5 separate regions of the Homo sapiens genome follow, and regions 1, 3, 4 and 5 are each linked to region 2. The links are contacts of gene promoters, found by promoter capture Hi-C in blood cells and fetal thymus (Javierre and others, 2016). All regions are on one chromosome and are shown on one strand. Each heading gives the region's core, a stretch centred on a gene start or on the middle of the fragment in contact. The rest is flanking DNA. Distances are from core to core; before and after follow the strand shown.

Region 1 (4,680 bases), core at 1,810-4,309, 1.7 Mb before region 2:
GAATGCTTTTGACCACAAGTAACAGAATAATCAACTCGTGATACATAACATGAATATGTATATTTGTGTGGGAAGCCCAGGGTCGAAGAGACCCAGGGTTTGTGCTGGACTCGGTGATGGTGTCAGAGACAAAGGCTCTTTCCCTTATTTTCTATGACATGTTAAATGCACTGGTTTATTCCTTCAAAGCTTCTAAATGGCTCACTTCATTGTTTTCTTTATACAAAATTTCATAAAATTTTAACAAAAATTAGATTTGCATTAGATACACATTTCACATACACAAAATTAACTATATCCTTTCTTCTGAGAGAGAGAAAAACAACAGTTTAAATAGTGGGCAGGGTGCTGTTCTTTGTCCCCAAGGTGAGGACAGGATAGGAAATGTGACTTTCTTCTCCCCTCAGATGGTCTGAACTCCTAAGAGCCTGTCACAGGGAATCTCCCAGTACCCTCGGCATCCTATGCTGTATTTGGGGGACAACTGAAAAGATTTTCCAAATTATATAGGCAGGAGTTGGCAGACCATTTCCATAAAGAACCAGATAGTATTTTTAGCTTTGAGGGCTGTACAGTCTGTGTCACAACTACTGAATTTTGCCATGGTAACAGGAAAGCAGTCATGGACAATACATACATAATGGGCATGGCTGTGTGCTAATAAAACTTTATTTACAAACACAGGTAGAGGGCTGGATTTGGCCTCTTCACTGTAGTTTGTGCACCCTTGCTATACATAATTTGTTACATTTGCCTTAGCAGGGAGGCCGCTTGATCTTCCCATCTCCCATTTCTCCATGATAATGTGAGCTTCCTCTCAGCCTTGGCACGAGGAGGACTGCTGGGGCAAGACCCACCCTTCTCTCTGCCCTCACTGACTCCCACCCTCGGAGGAGGAGTGTTTATCTGACAGGTAGGTTGGGAGGAAGAACAGCTGGCGCAGCTCAGCCCCTCCCTACCCTCCTTTCAGAGCACCCTCCCCACTCCCCACCCACCCGCCTCTCCTCTGCTCTCCTCTAGGCCTGTAAGGAGGGGGCTAGTTCTAGGTGGGTGCAGTCCATTCTGGAGGGAGCAGATGAGAACACCCCAACCTGGCCACCAGTCAGGTCATGTCCTCCAATCCAGCTGATGCAACAATAAAGCAGGTGGATTTTCTGCATCCATCCACTTCCTGCGCTTATCTCTCCACCAATTCCAAGCTGAGAGGCTGAGTTTGAGATCTTCTGCTTTCCTGGCAGATTCTCCCCAGCCCCTGCTCCCCCCATCTTTGTGCCCAGGGAGGTGGCCTCCATGGGCTTCTGTCTTCAGCATCCAGTTGGGCTTGGCTGATAGGAGGCACCAACAGAAGACGGGAGAGTGGGAAGAAAGTAAGTTTGGGCATTTATTCCCCACACCCTCCCGTGAGAGCATCCTGGCCGGCCCGCATCTGTTACCCAAGGCCAAAGCGCCCATCGAATTTACTCTCTATTTATCTGTTCCGTGTTCCCAGAACCACCCCTTCCCCTTGTCCCCTTAAGTCTGGGAGTGATCACAGCTCCTCACTCTCCCCAGCCCCAAATCTGCATTATTTCTTTGATTTCCTCAAACCCCGACCACACCTTTATAAACAGTCCCTTTATAAAATTCTCTCCACATTCCCAGTTTGAGTGTGTATTTCTTACCTACTGAGATGCTGACAGATACAGGGGGTAGGGAACAATACATCATCTCCCCTTCCCATCCCCCCATGATTCTGCCTTTCAATCCAGTACTGGGTTGAATGGTGTCTCCCCAAAATTCATGTCTACCCAGAACCTCAGAATGTTGCCTTATTTGGGAGTAGAATCTCTGCAGGTGTAATTAAGGGAAAGATGGTGGTAAAATTGTCAGAGGCATTTGAACCAGAGCAACTCCATCTTGAATAGAAGCTGGGTAAAATAAGGCTGAAACCTACTGGGCTGAATTCCCTGTTAAAGCATTCTAACTCACAGGATGAGATAAGAGGTTGGCACAAGACACAGGTCATAAAAACCTTGCATAAAAACAGGCTGCAGTAAAGAAGCCGTCCAAAACCCACTCAAACCAAGATGGCCACCAGAGTGACCCCTGGTTGTCCTCACTGCTGCACTCCTACCAGCGCCATGACAGTTTAGGAATGCCATGGCAACTGCAGAACGTTACCCTATATGGTCTAAAAATGGGAGGCATGAATAATCCACCCCTTGTTTAGCGTATCGTCAAGAAATAACCATAAAAATGGGCAACCAGCATCCCTTGGGGCTGCTCCGTCTATGGAGTAGCCATTCTTTCATTCCTTTGCTTTCCTAATAAACTTGCTTTCACTATACTCTACGGATTTACCCTGAATTCTTTCTTGTGCGAGATCCAAGAACCTTCTCTTGGCATCTGGATCAGGACCCCTTTCCTGTAACAAGGTCATACTGGATTCAGGTGGGCCCTTAAGCCAGTGAGGCTGTTCTGTTAAGACACAGAAAAGGACACACTGACACAGAGGAGAAGACCATGTGAAGACAGATACAGAGATGGGAGGGATGCAGCCACAAGCCAAGGAATGCCCCAGGACCAGAAGCTGGAAGAAGCAGGAACCTCATCTTGTAGAGACTTTGGAGGGAGCACAGACCTGCCCACAGCTTGATTTTGGACTTCTGGCCTCCAGAACTGTAAAAGAGTAAGTGTCTGTGTTTTGGGCCACCAAGCTTGTGGTAATTTGTTATGGCGGCCCCAGAATACCAATCAGGAAACTGAGACAGATCCTAACCAAACAGCAACATCCAGCATCTCATTGCAGTGTCTGCATTTTTCATATAACATTCCAAAATGTTTTTCTCCATGGGTGACAATGATGAAGAGAATTTTACTTTTTCAGGGAAACTGACGCAGTCCTAAGAGAGGCCTCTTTCATGGTGCCAGCCCTTCTGTAACAAGGGAGTAGCCATAGCCCCAGCCCAGCAGAGTCCTCAGCCCTGGAGGAAGGATGGGTTCCGTGGACAGCAGCGACTCTATGTCTGCATGAAGACCCCAGTCGCTCCCTACTTCTGTTCTCTCCTGATTCCAAAGTGTCCTTTTGTTTGCTTTTAATTTATGACCAAATCTCAAGCAGCCTCACTTCCTTCCAGTGCCCAAACCAATACATCTTTGTCCAAGTATAATCTCATGACAGTTGTCAGCCAGGTTTTTAATTGTGAGGAAGAGCCGTGCTTCTAAGAATCCATAAGTTTTGTCCACCCATGTGCCAGGGATTTTCAGGATTTTAAGCCTGTCTGCATTGGTAGAAACATGAAAATGGAAAGCGTAACTTGCTAACAAGGTTTCTGTGATGAATTTTATGCAGGAATTTCCCCCTGGGGTTCTGCTTGTTTATTTAGGACAAATACAGCAAAATAGAAAGAAGAAAAGACTCATTGGACCATGGATGCCTTTTCAAAGCTTATTTTGTGTTTTAAAGAAATGAAATTAGTATCCAACACTTAACCATTGGGGCAATTTACATAAAACTCAGTCAATTCAGCCACACTGTGCTCCCCATTTGCACTTGGGAACATTAAGCCAGAGTTGAACACTAGCTACCATTTGACCGGGATGGTGCAGGTCTCCATTTGCCACAGTCCCCACCTTTCCTTGCTGTCTGACACCTGCTCTATTTAAGGCATTCATCTTGGCGAGTGGGGCTCCCTAGATTTAAGTTTGTGGTCTCTAATATAGGGGCTGCTTTATTCATAGCTCATTCAACAAGTATTTATTCAGGGTGTAAGCTGGGCCAAATACTGTGTCAACTGTTGGGGATATACTCAGTGAACAAGACAGGCATGGTCCCTGCTGTCAAGAGTCTTGCATTTCGGGCAGATAAATAAGGTCCTAGCGTTCTGTCGCTGGAAAGAAATTTAAAATTTTAAATGCCATCTCAAAGATTTTGGACTTGTAGATACATTTGCCTGTGTGTTAAGTTTCACTTCTTGGTGGCAGGGTATGAGGTTGAAGTCATATGCCTTAAAGTTGCTTGCCCCATTTTCGTTGTATTTGAGGTTCTTGCTGCTCTCAGGATTGTTAAACCACCTGCCTAAATTCCCAGCATCTCTGTAACTTCTGATCTCTGAGCAATGCCATATTTGATATCTCAAGATTATTAATATCCTAAAAATGACACACAAGCTTTGAACATGTCAGGAATTAACATTCTCACCCAGTTAACACCTCTTAGCCAGCCTTCAGGAACTACAAACTTAGAATCTTTTTTAGTTGTATAGTCAGAAGGTTTGCTAAGAAAATTGACAAGATTTTGAGATGGCTCTCAGAAGTGTCTTAGAAGATGTATCTTAAAATCCTGAAAACATACAATTTTCTTAGCAAACCTTCTGTTTAAGATGTAAGGAATGGTTTAAAAATTAAGCAATGGTTACTTTTCATTAGGAGAAAATCTTCCATGTTTACTAAAGTCAGCATGATCTTCTCAGAACCACTCTGTAAACTGTGCACCCATTATGGAAGAAGAAAGTATTTCTGAAAAGTATTACATTACTGGAGATCTTATAATTGAACAAAATTTTTTAACTTCTATGAATTTGCATGCTTCTATTTCAATGAGATCTTCAAAACAAGAATGTGAAATAACCACCATCGTTGCCTTCAAATAGGTCAATGCTATGCCCTGAACTTAGCAGTAACAGTGGAAATGGGGCCACC
Region 2 (4,445 bases), core at 702-3,201:
GGGAAGGAGGGGGAACGTAAATTCCTCTTTCTAAATCGAACCATCACAGAACTCGGCATTTCAACTGTCTTCATCTATTATCAGATCCAAAGCAACATAACCTCAGTGATTCTGGAAGAACTCAGAGAACAGACAATTCATGTAATTAAAAGACTTTGTGCGTGATAATTGGCTTTGAAGTTTCTGAGAGAGATCTCATCTCAAAAATCTTTGCAGAAAAATATGGGTACAGGGTTCTTGCAGCACGTATTAGAGACTGCTGAGACGCTTCACTCTCCTCCCAGTGTATCTATCTGCAGGAAAGGGGCACGGGTGGGGGAACCACACACAAGCAGCCCAGGTCAATCATGAGAAAGAATCTCCCGCACAAATCACACCATTTCTCTTCAAGGAAGAATGACTGTCCAGAGCTTCCAAACTTGCTCTTCCCATGACAGACAGGGATGCTGGCAGAAGAGAAGAGGAAACATTGAGGAATTCCTGCCTTGACACATGGCTTCAAGTCAGGGCTCCGCTGGGAAAATTCGGGTCACAACTTGTAGCTGAAACTCCACGTGCACCCTGCGGGGCCGCTGCTGCTCCCAGCACCCTACGGAAGGGTGAGCGCCAGACCCTGTGCCCAAACCTCACAGCGGCAGACCTGGAGAAACCCATCCCCCTTCTTCAGAGCCGCCCCCCAGGCTATATTTTTGGCAGCCTATAATACACAAAATAGTATTCCCATACAACAGGAGTGCTCCAAAATTATTTCCAAATAGGTCAGTGCCACCAGGGAAAGTCAATCCCAAATTCCAGAAATCTCCCTGGTCATCTCAATCCCCTCCTCCCCCGACAGCCGGCTCGGCCCTCCAGAGGCCACCTTTCCTCTCAAGGGTCCCCACGCCCTCTCCCTTTACAGAAAAGGCTTTCAGGAAACAGCCTTCCTTTCCTTTCGGCTCCTTAGTAGTCTCACCTAAGGCCTCCCACCCAAGTGCTCCAGGACAAGCACCTTCGGCCAAGGGGCGTCCGAGGAGCTTGGCTGCCGCACGAGCGCACGTTCACACGCGCGCACACACACATGCACACAAGCGCGCACACACACTTGCACACGAGCCCTCTCTCCCGGCCGCCCCCATCCTCCACACACTCCCACACACTCACTCCAGGCGAAGTTAGTCCCCGGGCCCTGGCGGCCGCGGCGTCCTCACCTTTGGAAAACAGGGCGGCCAGGCTGATGAGTACCGGCGACCAGTGGTGCCACAGCGTCCCCATCTCAGACGGGCACATCCTGGAGACCCGGAGCGCAGATCCTCCGCTCCCCGGCGCCGTCCAGGCGAACAAGAGACCGTCTCAGTCCCCTAGAGGCCCGCAGCGGGGCCGGTGGCGAGGGAGCGCCCGGCTAGGGGCCCGAGCAGCCCGGGCGCCCTGCTCCCTCTTCCCGCCAGTCCATGGCCAGGCCGGGAGGCGACGACCGCGCGGGCTCCTGAGTTGCTCTCCGGAGTCCAACACGCGCGCAGGCAAACCCCACCTCCCTCCTTCGACCCCAACAGAATTTTTTTTAAATTTTAATCCACAGGGGGTATTTCCTTTCCTGTTTACCCGAGCGAAGAGTGGCCCCCGGTGGCCCAAGGAGGGGCGCCTCCAGGCGCAGGGCTCCGGCGGCTCCAGCTGCTCCCGGGCTGGCTAGCGGGCGCTGGCGCAGGCGGCGCCGGGGTGGCGGGGCTGCGGAGCCCGGGACGCGGGCAGAGGCGGCTCGGAGCCCCCCGGGCGGGTGGCCGGGCTCGCTGGGCGGCCCGGGGCTCCCTGGCCCGCAGCCCCCATCCCAGGCCGGCCGCTGCGCCTCGGGGCTCGGGCGCGCGCGCGCTCCGGCACCCAAAGTTTGGCGGGTGCGGCTGCTCCCCGGCCGCCGCCTCGGCCCGCCCGGCCCCGGGCCCGGCTGGGGCTCGCGGGGCTCTACGCGCGCCGAGCGCACTGCAGGCTCCGGAGACGCGGGGCTCCCCCCTGCGCCCGGGGGAGGCGGGCCAGATGTGCGCGGAGGAGGGCCCGCCGGCTCGGGGACGCGGCCGAGCAACGCAGCTGCCTCCTGCCAGCAGGCGCGGGGGCTCCGCTCCGCAAGGACCGCATCCGGAACGGAACGGAGGCGATCGCCACGGTGCCCGGAGCCGGCTGGGGCTTTCGCCTTAAAAATTTGTCTGCTTTTAAAAAGCCCCACCCTTTCGGAGTGACAGCTGTGAGCCCCAATCCGCAAAGTAAATCCCACCTCCCCCTGGCCGCCCCACGCCCAGCCTCCCGGCCACCCTCCCTGCGAGCGCGGACGCGCGGTGGCGGCGGGCGAGGGCTCCCAGCGCGGGCGCACCCCGGGGACGGAGCCACCCACTCTCCCAACAGGTGTCCAGCTGGCCACCGGCCTCTCGTCGTCATCAAAACCTCAGGCCCAGGGGAGGTCCTCCAGCCCGGGGGCACCTGAGGCTCTTCGCCAGGGAGAGCGCAAGGATGGCTGGAGAAGGGCCCTCGCCCCGCCCTGCGCATCTCCCAGGGATCGCAGTGAGGAAGTCTCTGACACGCCACACTGAGGTCATGCTGGCCCCAAGCCCCTTCCCAGAGCGATCCCCCAAGTTAGTGTCCCTAGAAACATGTCGTGTGCTCCCCAGGGCTCACTGGGAAAGGAAATGGATCCATTAGGAGACAACATTGCTTTGAGAAGATAAAAGACATGATTCTCAACACCGCCCGGAATCTCCAACTAAGACATTCCCACACCAAGATCCCTAAGCACCGTCCTGTAATTTGTAGCCCAAGAACTGCTTTGCTCCACGAGAGCCTTTAAATTAACCCCATCAAAGCTCAGAGGGAAGAAAAGCATTCAGAATTTTTAAGGAATATTGTAAACCAACAAGCCCTGAATCTAATGAGGTGAATTCACCTCAGTAGATAAAAATGGGTCGTTATCATCTGACTGAGGGGGCAATGGACTTTTTTATCCTGTATGCCTGTAGTTGCAGAAATATACCAATGCTTTAAGAGTTTTTAGCTTTCAAAGTTTCAAGGAAGATCAAAAAAGCCACTGCTGTTCTACCGAAGATTGTTTTTCTGGGTTCATGTCCTTTGAGATGTGCTCTTGTCTTTTATTCTGTATCTACTTATCTGAATATATCTGTCTTTCTGTTTTTTCTTTTGTTTGTTTCTTAAACTTGTTGCCTTTTCTCTTTGTATTGCTCTCCTGTAAAATTCCTAAGAGTCGACGCTGCAAAGACCCTAAGAGATTGTCTCTTTCACTGTTTCTGAAGTTTGAACCAGCAGGAGAGTCACTGGAAAATTTGTTAGACCTGGGTTGCTGGGCCCACCCCAGAGCTATCTCGGCAGGTCAAGGTGGGACTTCCGATCTCCGTTCCTAAAAAGTTCCAGGTGATGCTGATGCTGCCGGCCTGCGGAACACGTGCTGGAACCACTGGTCCCCTTTCTCCTTCACCTGAGTGATGAGAGAGCTGAGCTTTCGTCTCTTGGACACCTTCACCTGGTCTCTGAGTGTCAAAATTGATGCCCGCACTGAATGCATAATCCAGGTTCCATCCTTAACGCTACAGTGGGTCTGAGTCTATTTGTAAATCATCTATTTGTGACACTGAGTCTATTTGTAAGACATTTCTCAGACATATTGACTAGAAACAAGTGGTCCCTGTTCTTTATTAAAAACAATCATTTTATGTTTCTCTAAATCAAATTGAGTTTTTCCCCTGAATTGCAATCATCAAATAACTTTTCTTTTTGCCATTGCAGAAGGTTTCTCTATCTGTAATGTGAAGACAAAAGGTGACTGTCAAGTTCCAGCTGCTGCCTAAAATGTTAAACGGTTTCTTCATTATGCGTAGTTGGCGAAACAAAAGTTTTTTCCACTCTTTGGTATGGAAGATTTTTTGGGAAGATGCAACTTCAGATACCTAATCAGTGGCTAAAATAAGATGCAAGAATGGCTTCTTACTTTTTCTCTCTCCAGTATGCCATTCTCCCTGGTACATCTAATCTTCTTTGGGTAATTAACACAGCTAATTGTGGGGAAGCAAAACTTAGACTTGGAGATGGACACTGAGGGCTCATAGGTCCCTAACTCCAGCCCCTGCCCCAGGACAACTTCCCATCAAAATCGCCTGCCTTGTCTCTCTCAAGTTACTTGTAAGAAATCTGCTTTCCTCCAAGAATATGTGTTTCATCTGCGGGGCCATAAATCAAGCTGTAAGCCTAATTTTGTCGGTAATTAAATTGCACTAATTGTTCATGCTGTGTGGATGAGGCTTTTACACTAAGCAGTTTTTGTTGTTATTTTTCAATAAAACAAAAACATTCCCTGTAGCAGTTTTTGAGAAATGGCAACTTTGAGCGTTGATAAAGGCAGAAAGGAGCTGGAATTCAAGTACTGCAGGGGCTATGCCACTGGTGGATGAGAGGACACTTTCAGGCCCTCTAAAGAT
Region 3 (4,629 bases), core at 2,012-4,511, 1.2 Mb before region 2:
GGCCATGGCTACCACGCATTCTGTCCGCATAGTTTAGATATCAGAGTGAGTGGAGTTCAGTGGGCAGTTTTCTCAATGGGCAGCTCATCCACAATGAAAGATGAAAAGCAGTCTGAGAAACAAAGCCGAGGGACTAAAAAGACTCCTGTGGGGTTTTGGTTCCTTTTTGTAGATGAGTGGGCTCACTTTTTCATATGATAGTTCTCACTGCTGGCCACTTAGGAGATGATTAATGCATCCTGAGATGTCCCCAGACATTTATGACACCTTCAGGAATAGCAGTGACGATGGCTCTATCATGCACGGCTACTTCATACCCTTGGCATTGCTCTTAATTATTTATATATTCGGGAGCAGCCAGGTTTCCTCCCACCAGAGCTCAGAAAGGTAATAAATGAGAAAAGTCAATGGTCTGTAAATTACAACATTGACTAAAGAAGTGATTACTGATATAACTCTTGCTCGACTGTTGTGCTAATGCCTTCCCAGATCCAGGACAGTGTTTACCTGCTAATGACAAGCCTGGGATGGCAACTAAAATTGCCTTCCTTCTTTAATCAGCATGTAAACATTTTTAAACCACTCTTGACCATGAATGAGAAGATCCATCCATGTGTTCCCATCCCAACTGCTCCCTGCCACTGTCCCCAACTGCTCCCTGCCACTGTCCCCAGCAGATGGAGCAAATTCTCTCAGCCCAGCCCTCACCAGCTGCCTCTCCAAACAGAAGTGCAAGTTGAAGATGAAAATTGAGCCCAGAGTAGCCATCCATGGTTCCCGGAAGCTGGGGAAAGAGAGGGTGATCAGATTATAAGAGTTCTTTATTCAGCACTGGATGTTATTTGGCCGAGGCCACAGACCCCCCAGAAGGGGACTCTGTTCTTTCCAAGCTACATGATCTAGACAGAAGACAGATAAGCAAATCAGCAATTATAGCTTAGTATGCTAAGTGCTATGTGAGGGGTTTCCGAGTGACTTCATTAACTCAGAAATACTCCACTAAACTGTATGTGTGTGCATTTCTCCAGCAAGAATTAGCTTTATGTGTATTCTCAAAAGAGTGAATGACCCAAGAAAGGTTAGGAAACACTGCCTGAGCACTTTCTAGAAACTTTTGAATTAACTTCTTGTGTTTTTGTAGCTTTTGGCTCCATGTCATCTCAGTCTCTCACTGCATCGTCCATCAACCCCAAGATCCTTGATGACTGTCCTGAAGCAGGCATCCCCATGAAGGGAAGGCCCTGCTCATCCATCCCTCTGTCCATCTGTCTGTGCATCAGTGTGTGCTTCCATCCATCAGTTCATCTGTCTATCCATCTGTCCAGCTATCTACCCATTTATCCACCAGCACTTAACCTGCCCATCCATCCATCTTTCCATCCATCCATCCGTGCATCCACCCATCTGTCTGTCCATCAGTGTGTGCATCTGTCCATCTGTTCAGCTGTCTATCAATCTGTCGACCTATTCACCCATTTATCCACCAGCCATTCACTTGTCCACCCATCCATTCATGTGTCTGTCCATCAGTGTGTCCATCCACCCATCAGTTCATCTATCTATCCAGCTGTCTACCCATTTGTCCACCACCCATTCACCTGTCCACCCATCCATTCATGTGTCTGTCCCTCAGTGTGTGCATGCACCCATCAGTTCTTCTATCTATCCAGCTGTCTACCCATTTGTCCACCACCCATTCACCTGTCCACCCATCCATTCATGTGTCTGTCCATCAGTGTGTCCATCCACCCATCAGTTCATCTATCTATCCAGCTGTCTACCCATTTGTCCACTACCCATTCACCTGTCCACCCATCCATTCATGTGTCTGTCCATCAGTGTGTCCATCCACCCATCAGTTCATCTATCTATCCAGCTGTCTACCCATTTGTCCACCACCCATTCACCTGTCCATCCATCCGTTCATGTGTCTGTCCATCAGTGTGTGCATCCACCCATCAGCTCATCTGTCTATTCATCTACCCAGCTATCTACCCATTTGTCCACCACCCATTCACCTGTCCATCCATCCATCTGTTCATCCTTTCCTCCATCTGTCCATCTGTCTATGCATCAGTGTGTGCATTCATCCATCTGTTCATCTGTCTATCCATCTATCCTTCCATCCATTCATCCATGCAATGTCCATTTCACTGAGCTCCTGCTTCATAAGCAGCTGAGGTAAGGAACCCAGAGGTGAAAAATGAACACAATGTACTTTTTGCCTTCAAAGATTTCTTAGTTTAAGAGGTGATATGGACACATGGGACCAATTTAAATCACATCTGATAAGCTTGGCTATTCAACAGGGGTCATATTGTTTCTCTATAACCCAACTTGGTTTCTATTTTCAGTTTTCAATTCATCGGGGTGGCAGAAACAGAATACCAGTCTAATTTCCAGGGGATTTAACTATTGCCAAGGCCTTGGGGAAGGGCACATCTTGTCTTATAATCTTCTGTTCACAGTTCCTAGGGGACATTTTTTACCGGTCACAGTCCGCCCAGGTTACCTCTTCAATGGCCCCTCATTGTTGTCCACATTGCCCCTTCCTGCCTGCTTGAGAACACAGGTATCATTCTGCTGTTTCCTTGCTACACTGGGAATGCCCTCTGGGCTGGTAGATAGAGTCATATTTGAATGAATAATCTGGGAACACAAAAGCCACATACTTGCAACCTTTATTTTTTTAGTCTGTGTGTTTATTTTTCTTTCTGCTTTGTCTCATCCCTTTCCTGAGACAGCAATCTGCCAGAAAGGGGAAAAGGAAAGGGAGGCGCATAGGGAAAGGGAACATAGGTTGGTAGTCCCTAATGTGATCTGCCATTCACATAACGAACACGTATTATATAAATAATCCCACGGGGTCATAGAAGACCACAGAAGGGGTCTCATAAGGAACCCCTGAGCTGGGGTAGGTCAGGCAAATAGGGATGGGAAGGTGCTCCCAGGCACAGGGACCGGCCTTGCCAAAGCCTGGGGACCGTGAAGAACCTGCATCAGGCCTGCATGTGCATGCAGGGGAGAGACCTCAGAATTAGTGAGAATCATGCTGGGGAGGAAGGCACTACGGGCCCTTTGCATCCTTGGAGGCTGGATGGGGTGGGTTGTGGGTGCAGCTTACTTTCTGAAAAGACATAACTGCCCAGGGTGTGAAAACCTCTGGTGCTCACATCAAATTACTCAGCCCACCCAGATTTCAGCTACAGCTGCAGTTCTGTACAAGTTCAAGTTCACTTTTTGATTGCAGTCTCACCTCAATCTGCTTTCTGTTTTCTGTTCCGGGTGGGGCAAGCCCTCAACCAGTAGGAATAAGAAATGGTAGCTAAAAATATTCCCTCCTCTTACTCCTCAAGTGGACAATTCTAGATACTTTTCATGAAGCCTCTGAAAACCGAGCCCATGGTCCCTGTAACAGCCTAAAAAATGCACCTTCCTATTGGGTTTCCTTCTTTCTCTGTCTTCCTCATCTGCTCCTTCACCCCTGCTCCCTGGGGTCACCTCCCAATTAAACTGAGTGCACCAAATCCTTGTCTCAGGCTCTGCTTTAGGAGAAACCAGAAATAAGCATTTGTGCTTTGCAAGATAATAGGAAAAACAAAAAAAGGATTGTCTCCAAGGCTCCATGAACTTCTCCTCCATCCTTTCTCCCTCTGTCTTTGCAGGTGTCTGAGCGCTGTGACTACATCTTTGTCAATGGCAAAGAGATCAAAGGAAAGATGGATGCGGTGGTGAACTTCACATACCAGTACCTGAGCGCCCCCCTGTGTGTCACCGTGTGGGTGCCCCGGCTGCCCCTGCAGATCGAGGTCTCTGACACGGAGCTCAGCCAGATAAAGGGCTGGAGGGTCCCCATTGTGACCAATAAGAGGTGAGCCTCGGATGGGGAGATGCCCTAGAGCCAAAACAACAACTTTATTTACTGACCTTAACACTAAAGGACCCAATGCTTAAGAGATGCTGGTATTGTCTCAGCAGTTGAATCTCCCCAGGGCTCCCAGATAACCCAGCCAGGCCCAAAAGCTGCTAAACAGCAGGTTTGCCTCAAACCCAGGTTGTCCGCACTCTACACTGGGGCTTATATGAGGCTGTCTCTTGAAAGTGGCTCTCCCAAAATGACACGATGGAGTTAATACATTTTTTTAGCATCTTGGTTACCAGGTAATTTGAAGTTTGGTTTATTTTCTCCAAAAAAAAGTCAGTCCTTTCCTGTGCTTTATGCATATCTATAAGCTTGAAATGTTCTGTGCAGATCAAATTATTGGATAAAATTTAATTGTGTTTCTAGTGGATGCTGGAATCATTATTTGCCAAAAGCTTCTAATTTTTTTGGGATTCCGGACTGTCTGTCTGTCACATGCAAGAGTATGGGGTCTTGTTTTCTCAGCCCTGTGACCCCCGGATTAGCAGACATTAGCTAAGTGAAGGTGTTCCTGAGTTCACAGCTTCCTGCCTGGAATGCTCCACCCCAGACCATCAGGGCTCTTTCCCTGACAGTCCCCCAGGCACCAGGGCCTTTCTCATAAGAGAGAGCATTTCAAGAAGAGTAAGTAGGACAGTGAGATGCGGAATCCATCTCTACAAGGGGAAGCTGAAGGCATTTGGCCCGATGTGGGAGGAAAGCTGTGA
Region 4 (4,414 bases), core at 357-2,856, 1.6 Mb before region 2:
CTTGTTTTATATGCCTTTAGGAACTTAGAAGTTGCTGCATTCAAGGAGAAAGCAAATGTGAAATACAACCCATCTGGAGTCTAAATCAGCAAAATTTCCAAGACAATGGATTCCAGTTATTCTCCCAGAGAGACTGATTTCTTGTCTTCCACAATGTGTACGCATTTTTTCTTCCTGATTAAGGATGTTCTTAATAATGTGTTAGGAATGTTGAGTTTACACTTGCATATGGCTGGAATCCTAAAGTAACCCAAAGACTTAATATAGAAGACCATGTCTTTTCTATGTATAACATTTTTTTCTTTCTTCTCTCAATACCCTTCATCTTGCCAGCAACATGGTGAGTTATCACTTATGGACTAATTAGGAAGGTTCAGTATCATAGAAACAACAGCTTAAGTTTGAGCTTCTGTTCCACCAGTTCCTGGATGAATTGGTCAGAAGTCTTTGGTTGTTAGCAACAGAAACATCTTAATACCTTAATTGCTTATTACTAAGTTATAAGAGATTGGAAGCTCTTGACTCCAGAGAAAGCTAAAGGACGAGGTTTCCTATGAGCAGGAAGCTGCCAGGTGCTGGGTTCCTGTAGCTATAATTGTCTGGCTTCTTTAGGGTACCGCAGTTGGAAAACAGGAACCATTTTACTTATTTTTGTCTCAGTGCTCATGTTTTAGATTCCAGGGTGAAAGAAGCCTATACCTTGGCTAAACTTTTCACCTGGGGAATTTTGAAAATACCAATCCCCAGGCCTTATCCCAAACCAATGGAATCAGGCTCTTTGGTAGGGATGGAGTAGGGGTGGGTGTGGAGGCAGGGCTGATCAGTTTTACTGTTTAAAAGCTCTTCAGGTGATTCTAACTCTCAGGGATGCACACAGATTGTGTAGGCCCATCTCTATCTAGAAAGGTATAAGACAGCCTCATTAATAGTTCCATCATTTTGTATCCAAGGGGAAAGGATTTTCCTCCCAGAGAAAAACTGAAGAGCTGTTACTAAAAGAAGGTGTGATGGATGCTGGATGAAAAATCAACCAATGTTCATTCCACTGGCCCTAAGACCTAGTGTATGTAGTGAAAAAATAAAGGACAGCTTTTCTGAGCCTCAGTTTTGTTTTATAAGTCAGGGTTCCCCAACCCTCTGGTCATGGTTTGGTACTGGTCCGTGGCCTATTAGGAACTAGGCTGCAGAGCAGGAGGTGAGTGATGGATAAGCGAGCAATGCTTCCTCTGAATTTATAGCTGCTCCCCATCCCTCACATTACTGCCTGAGCTCTGCCTCCTGTAAGATCAGCGGTAGCATTAGATTCTCATAGAAGCTAGAATCCTATCATGAACTGTGCATGCGAGGGGCCTAGGTTGCATGCTCCTTATGAGAATCTAATGCCTGATGATCTGTCACTGTCCACCACTAGCCCCCAAGATGGGATGGTCTAGTTGCAGGAAGACAAGCTTAGGGCTCCCACTGAATCTACATTATGGTGAGTTATATAATATTTTATTATATAGTACAGTGTAATAATAATAGAGATAAAATGCACAATAAATGTAATGTGCTTGAATGATGCTGAAACAATCCCCCCACCCCCTGGTCCGATGTAAAATTGTCTTCCACAAAACTGGTCCCTTTTGCCAAAAAGGTTGGGGACCACTGTGCTAAGAAGGGATAATATCTATTTTATAGGATGGTTGACAATATTTAATGCAAAAGTGGACTAGAGATACTTAGCACGCTTTATGAATTTCCAAGGGCAGTTGTAACAAACATGGAAGCTTAATGTAACAAAAATTGGTCCTCTCACAATTCTGGGGCCAAAAGTCCAAAATCATATGTTGTCAGGGCCATGCACTGTGCTGAGCCCCCAGGGGAGGATCCTTCCTTGCCTTTTCCAGCTTCTCTTGGCTCCTGGTGCTCTTGGCTTGTGGCAGCATCACAGCAATCTTTGCCTCCGTCTTCACATGGCCTCCCATTCTAAATGATCCTTACCTGTCTGTCTTATAAGGATACCGGTCATTGGATTTATAACCCACTGTAATCCAGGATGATCTCATTTCAAGATCCTTAATGACATCTGAAAAGAGATTTTTTTCTTAAGCAAGGACATATTCACAGGTTCTAAGTGGACATTCGCTTTTGAGGCCATGCAAACTATTGCATGCGGTAAGACTTGGCATATAGTAAAGTTCAATAAATCAGGGCCATCATTATTTGTATTATTAAAGCCATGGAGAAGAAGAATCCACAGTACAATACAATGGAAACCTTACATAGATATTTTTTAAAAATAACTGAGAATAATTTAAAACACAAAGCAAAGAAAACAGAACTGTGCATTCAACAATATCGGGGAATAGGAAAACTGGTCAAGTGTGAGGTGTTTGTTTATTGTAGACCTAAACAGAGAGCCAAAGGTTTATATTCTGAGACATCCCTTGACCACTTCATGCTTAACTACAGCTTAGGCATAATTCCATCTGGCTTAGTGTTAGGATATTCTTGACACGATCTTAAGCTTCCCTTCTCCTTCTGAGTTCTCAGAGTCATGAAAACCATCCAGAGCAGGCCCCATTTCTCTCTTAGGTTAATTTTTTCTCCCAACTCTGCAGTTGACTTTTTTCATCCTTCTTGCTCAATTGGTCCCTCTGGCCCCATAATTATGTTTACTTTTGCTGTGTTTCCTCACTGTCTCTGCGGACCCAGATGCTGTAGAAATGTGGATCAAATGCTGGCCACTTTGGCACGCGGTATTCTACTAGCAAGTCTTTGAGGCAACAAGGGATTCTTATATTCCCAAAATAAAGGAACTTGAAGAAAACTGCCTCCTGCCTCAACACACACATGTGTGCATGCATGTGCGTGCATGCACACACACACACACACACACAATTCTAGGCTAGTTTCTGGTCTTATCATTGAGTTACAGCTTAGTGATGATTTTAAGACAAAACAAACAAACAAAAAAGAAAAAGCTCTTACTTATGCCCTAAACAAGGTATTCCTGAAAATGTGATTTTTGTCTCCACTGGAAACAATGAGGTTGGGTTTGACACACTGAAGCAGTTTTCCCTGTTTGATGGAAATGTTTTTTGAATATGCACCAAATTATTCAGTTTCTTATTCACGATTCCTCTAGTTACAAATGCCAAAACTCCCAGCTTAAGCAAACCATACCAAAGTCAAAAGAAGGAAAAAAATAATTTGTTCAGTAACTGCAAAGTCCAGATAGACTTCAGGCACAGCTGGATCCAGGGGTCAAGTGATGTCATTGGACAGTTTCTGTTTCTCCCAATCTCTTGGCTGCTCTGTCCTCTTTGCTGTCTTCATTTTGGAGAGGCCATCATTATCAACAGCACCTCCAGGCTTATATTCTGTCCACACAGCATACTCAACTAAAAGAAAGTGACTTCTCACACGGTTGTAGAAAAAGTTGCAGGGGCAGATTTTTGGCACTCACTACAGCCTTTCGCCCACTTACTGCGGACTTAAGGGAATGGGGTTTTCTGATGATGCAGATCTTGGGCACAGGAATTCTGGGAGCCTGGGGGTGAGGTCACTTCCACCCACACCACTAAGATAGAAGGTGTGATGATGCCCAAACACAGGTGGAGCTGTTTCAGAAGATGGGGAATGACTGCCCAGCAGGCAAAACCCTATTCATCAACCAAATGAGCAAAATGAAGGGAATCAAAAGCCACTGGATGGCCACTTCTCACGGGTGTGCTCCACATTGTGGGGGCAGCCCACATGGGAGGTCAGCTCGTTTCTCCTGCCTATGCACAAACAACAAAGTCCAGGACATCTCAAATTAGGAAGGTGGCCTTCTTTATCTCTCATCACATCTCTACCTCTGGGTGGCTTTTCCTCTTTTCTGCTTGTCTTGACCTTCATTCATTCTTCTCTCATTGATATCCAGCCATCCAACATCCCTCCAATAAGAGATGGGCACTGCAATAGTAGCATCTTCTATCACTGACCTCCTCTTGCAGATAAGGAGACCTTACTTTCAACCTCAGGTGCTCACCCCCAGGACTGTGGGATCCCTGGGCTGAGTTGCTAAAGCCTGCCAGTTTCTCATGCCGCAGCTGTATACGGTGACCCTAAAAGGCTTGCCCCTCTGGCATCCTGATTTAGGAGAACAAAAATCTCAGGGGAAGTCTATGTTTCGGGGCATTTGTTCTGCTCCGGCTTTGTTCCCTCTTTCCTGCCTCCTAAATGGCAATAGGTTCTTATCTTCAATTTTTGTAAACCTTTTGGGTCACGACACAGCCCCGGGTTACCATTTTCTTTATTTTCCACTGTTTAATTGTAAGCAATGAATTGACTGAGAGAGCAGACTTTTCTCATTTGCCTTCAAACTCAGTGTTTTCATCTGTCGTGTTCATATCCTATTAACTAAATGACGTTTCCTAGCTGGGAT
Region 5 (4,585 bases), core at 230-2,729, 1.2 Mb before region 2:
ACTGCTAGAAATCTGCTTCTCTCATCAATATCACTGGCAGATTTTTTTTTTCCTTTCTTTAGTTCTGAAAATGATTAATCTAACAACAGTTTCGGTGACTTTCTATGAGCGGACCATGTTCAATTGTGCTGATGGCCCATTAATACTGGCCTAATGTTGGCTGCACTCCCACCTGGGGGATCTACGAAGAAAGCTTTGTGATTTACCCAGAGAGAGCTCATCACGGAATTAGTGCAATGGATAGATATGATCCTAGGATCTGAGGACGCCATTTAAATGGTCCAGCAGTGAAAAGAGGTCACCGAAAGCAGGGAAGCCAGACCATTAGCTTCAGCAGCAAACAAATAAAAAGTGCAGTCTGGCTCTTACACGTGGGCACGGTGGGTCTCTGCCCTGGCCCCACACTTCGGAGGACCCCGCTCCAGTGTTCCTCTGCCCTTGCATTATCATTTACCTGTGTTCCTCCCTGTGAAGGAGGCTATGATGAGCTGAATTATGTCTCTTTAAAAATGCATCTGTTGAAGCCCTAACCCCCAATATCTCAGAATGTGACTGCGTTTGGAGATAGGACCTTTTAAAGAGATGATTAAGTTAAAATGAGTCTATTAGGTTGGCCCTAATACAGTCTGACTGGTGTGGTGGTAAGAAGACATTTGGACACACAGAGGCACCAGCGATGCGTGTGCACGGAGGAAAGACCATGAGAGGCCTCGGTGAGAAAGAGAGAAGAAGGCTGACCCCAACCAAGAGAGGGGCCTCTGGAGAAACCAAACCTGCTGACACCTTCATCTTAGACTTTTAGCCCCCAGACTGTGATAAAATAAATTTCTGTTATTAAAGCCATGCAGTCTGTGGCATTTTGTTATGGCAACCCCAGCAGACTAATTCACAGGCCAACGGGAGGTGTCCACCAAGGCTTTGGTATCCACTTCTAGACTATGCTCCACAGAGCTGGACCCGAGAATCCTCTGCACAATGGCCCCAGGACTATTTCCAGAGCAGTAAGGGCCTCTACCTTGAGGCTGACCTCCCAAGAGAGGACCATGAAGCCCATGTACCCAGCCTGGCCCAGAGAGGCACCCAGGGAGTAGCTGTTTGCAGGGAATCTAAGCAGAGCTGGCTTCTGAGGACAGGTGTTTGCATGCAGACAGGTGAGGCCTCCACAATTGCAGAAGAAAGATGCGGGAGGGAGGGGACAGGTGTTTGCATGCAGACAGGTGAGGCCTCTCCAATTGCAGGAGAAAGATGCGGGAGGCAGGGAAGGTGAGCAACCCACCGCCGGGCATCAAGGCTGAGGCTGGCTTTCGCTGTTGTATGTACCATGTCCTGTGCAACTACAGGGAGTCAAAGGGTTTTCCACTGGAGCCTGGCTTTCTGGGTTGTTATGCAGGCATAGTGTCAAAGTGAGGAAAGAGACCAGCAGGATTTGTTTTCCGGTGACAACCCCGTTGACCAAAACAGGATCTGGTGCCGTCAGGATAAAGTGAAAGAACCGGCAGAACCAGCAGATGGTGACAAAAGCCATCCCCAGCTGCCCTCATTGCTCATTGGCATAAGAGGCTCCCACCAGCATCGTGACAGTTTACAAACACCATGGGAACACATTGGAAGTTGTCACCCCTTTCCTTGGCAACAACCTGGAAATTACTGTCCCTTTCCTAGAAAGTTCTAACTCACCCACCCTTTAATTTGCTGTAGCCCTCCCCTTAATTTGCACATAATTAAAAGTAGGTATAAATGCAATTGCCAAGAGCCCGTACATTGTCAACTCTGGGTGCACTGCCTGAGTTAGTCCTGCCCCACAAGGAGCAGTACCATTCAGTAAAACATTCCTGTCTAACACCACCAGCTTGCCCTTGAATTCTTTCCTAGGCAAAGCCGAGAACCCTTCCAACCTAAGCCCCAACTTTGGGGCTCACCTGTCCTACATTGAAGGCAAGGATAGGGAACGCATTTTGTTTGTTCACCTGATTAGTAACCTTTAAGCATTTACATCTGTGGCAGGTGGACCTCCACTGATGCTCTCACTTTGGGCCCCACAAATGTCTGGGGTGAGGCCAATGGTACCCAATCGAATGGGAGTTTGAGACTCCATTAGCCCTTGGGCGGCCCCGTTTTCATCTTCCTGATACTGATGGTGAGCTGGGCCAAGAGACACTCTGGAACCTTCAGGCTGCCTCTTCTCCCACTTGAATAGAAAAGCCCAGTGCATCTGAGGAGTCACAAGTGATATTTGCCGAAGGGATATTTTAAAAAGCAAACCCGGGATGGCCTCTCCAGGAGCAAGACAGAGAAGGGGGATTTCAATCAGGGAAGTGGGTTGAACTCAAAAGAGCGTGCCTCTCATTTGCAATGGCCAGGGCTCACCAGCATTGTGGGGGGAAGTGGTGTTACCATGGAAACCTCTTTCGGGCTTTGTGGTCCGTACTCAGGCTCTTCTCACTCATGAAGTCCGAATTGGTATTTCATAAAAATTTTAATATGTTCTAATTATTCTGAAGCTGCTGCCTCCGTAATTGATTTTCATGTAAAAGAACACAATTTCCCTGCATTTCCTGGCCAAAGTGTAATTGTGCCTATTTCAGAAACAAGTTTATCAATACTTTCATCGACATCTACCCAAAACAGAGGGTCAAAGTTCTTTTTCCTTTTCTTCAGGGAATAAGCACAGCAAATGTGTATTATCCAGAAGGGACCCTGAGTGAGGCTGCAGTTACAGGCCCTCATTAGGGATTTTCTACCGTAAGAAAGGAGAAATTCTAAACTAAGCTTGCTTTATTTTTTTCCAGCAGAACATTTACTACACAAATACCCGGAATAATACTGGAACATATTCACTCATAACTGCAGGCTTCAGGGTTATATAATTCCATTTCATGAGAATCACAGAAATGCAGAGAGTGAGAATGATGACCTCTCTCCCTTTGGAAGCACAAACCTGAGTGTAAATGTTAAGCCTTGGTGAGTAGGCAAAAATAAAATTAACTCCCAGATATCTCAGGCCTCCTCAGTGCAGGTCCTTCTGTGTGTGAAAAATTGGCTTTTAAGGGGAGAGATTCATGCTTGATAAATAAAGCCTAATTTGGAAATCTCTGCAGAGCTTTTGGACCAAGGATCAACCCCCTGCCTGTCTTCATTCTAATGTGGTTAAAACACCAATGGCCATTCATTCACTTTGTCTCTGAAGGAAACATGATGATATTATTAGCAGAGAGCTAGAAACTGGAGTGGAAGGGAAAACACGTAAGAACAGCAGAACTGGAGAAGATGAAATAAGACAGAAAGGGAGACAAGGAGTAGAGGGGAGAAAGAACAGAAAGTCTTACCTGATTTCTATATGAGTCGGGACTCTTTTGGTTCCAAGACATAAGAAATTCAACTCGAAGTGACCTAAAGAAGAGAAAGTTTGGGGGTGGAGGGAGGAGGCTAGCTGAAATTAAAGATCTATGAAGCTTCAGGCATAGCTGGATCCAGGTGCTCATACAAGGTCTGAGTGTGGTCACTCTCTCTGTCTCTCAGTTCTGTCATTTCCTGCATTACCTGCATTTCCAGGCAGGCAGAACCATGGCTGTCGGGAATGCCCAGATTGCTTCACAGCCTCTCCATACTTCCAGGAAAAAGAACCATTTTTTCCCTAACCATTAAAAAAATACATATAATTGCCAGGCACGGTGGCTCACCCCTGTAATCCCAGCACTTTGGGAGGCCGAGGTGGGCAGATCACGAGGTCAAGAGATCGAGACCATCCTGGCTAACACGGTGAAACCCAGTCTCTACTACAAATACAAAAAATTAGCCGGGCGCGGTGGCGGGCACCTGTAGTCCCAGCTACTCGGGAGGCTGAGGCAGGAGAATGGCGTGAACCCGGGAGGCGGAGCTTGCAGTGAGCTGAGATTGCGCCACTGCACTCCAGCCTGGGCGACAGAGTGAGACTCTGTCTCGAAAAAAAAATAATAATACATATAATTGAATATTTTTGGATCGCTGCATCCATGTCTACTTATAAAGTCATCACTGGCTAAGGGTATTCGGTGTTCTGATTGCCTAGTCAAATGTCTCTACCTCCAGAGCCAAGGAAAACCTCATAGACTAAAAGTGGAGTGGGTTCATCCCCCAAAACATCATATGGTTTTGTGACCAAGAGAAGAGAGAATGCATGCAGGACTGGGAACAGAAGAGATGAAGACGACAGGGCTTTACCTAATGACTTAACCCTCAGAGAATCAGTATGTTTCAGAGGCCAAATGCTGCTCACCCCTACAACCCCACGACTGTTTGTGAATGACTCCAGCTGCGTTTGCCTCCCTTTCCCAACGAGCACCTGGCGCAGGAGTGATTATAAGCAACCGCGTCTCATTCACTCCTGGACCCTACACACACTGGTATTAAGAAAATGTTTATTTTGAAAAGGGATTCAGAAGTGGCTATATTTATTTTTATATTTCCTCTTGCCCTAGTTAATATTTTTGTGGTCTTGACACCCTGTCTTTAAGAAAATGACACATCGCCCTTTTCATTTCCCTTCTCTTCACCCCCAACTGTTTGTGAGCCCAAGGTGCTTGGAAAAGATAACAGGGTCTTTAAT

The links. The method cuts DNA at HindIII sites, captures the fragments that hold promoters and counts their contacts. A CHiCAGO score of 5 or more calls a contact.
Region 1: a fragment that was not itself captured here is called in contact with the fragment with the promoter of TMEM132D in region 2 in 2 of 17 cell types (total B cells and naive B cells); the score reaches 6.3 in total B cells.
Region 3: a contact is called between a fragment that was not itself captured here and the fragment with the promoter of TMEM132D in region 2, in 2 of 17 cell types (M0 macrophages and M2 macrophages). The highest score is 9.8, in M0 macrophages.
Region 4: a contact is called between a fragment that was not itself captured here and the fragment with the promoter of TMEM132D in region 2, in 2 of 17 cell types (M2 macrophages and M0 macrophages). The highest score is 6.3, in M2 macrophages.
Region 5: a fragment that was not itself captured here is called in contact with the fragment with the promoter of TMEM132D in region 2 in 1 of 17 cell types (naive B cells); the score reaches 5.8 in naive B cells.

The regions. Positions count from the first base shown.
Region 1 is chr12:128,236,158-128,240,837 of GRCh38, forward strand. No RefSeq gene overlaps it. Among named protein-coding and RNA genes, the nearest start is that of TMEM132C, 29 kb to the right of the region's middle. The HindIII fragment of the contact is 730 bases long and covers 2,695-3,424 here.
Region 2 is chr12:129,902,074-129,906,518 of GRCh38, forward strand. TMEM132D (transmembrane protein 132D) reads right to left here and starts at 1,952. Exons shown (of 9, transcript NM_133448.3): 1 at 1,188-1,952. The coding sequence starts at 1,266. The HindIII fragment of the contact is 8,442 bases long and covers 1-4,445 here.
Region 3 is chr12:128,690,164-128,694,792 of GRCh38, forward strand. It overlaps TMEM132C (transmembrane protein 132C), which reads left to right. Exons shown (of 9, transcript NM_001136103.3): 6 at 3,666-3,871. Among named protein-coding and RNA genes, the nearest start is that of SLC15A4, 130 kb to the right of the region's middle. The HindIII fragment of the contact is 1,940 bases long and covers 2,292-4,231 here.
Region 4 is chr12:128,274,035-128,278,448 of GRCh38, forward strand. All of the region lies in intron 1 of TMEM132C (transmembrane protein 132C), which reads left to right. Among named protein-coding and RNA genes, the nearest start is that of TMEM132C, 9.1 kb to the left of the region's middle. The HindIII fragment of the contact is 321 bases long and covers 1,447-1,767 here.
Region 5 is chr12:128,741,726-128,746,310 of GRCh38, forward strand. No RefSeq gene overlaps it. Among named protein-coding and RNA genes, the nearest start is that of SLC15A4, 80 kb to the right of the region's middle. The HindIII fragment of the contact is 2,576 bases long and covers 192-2,767 here.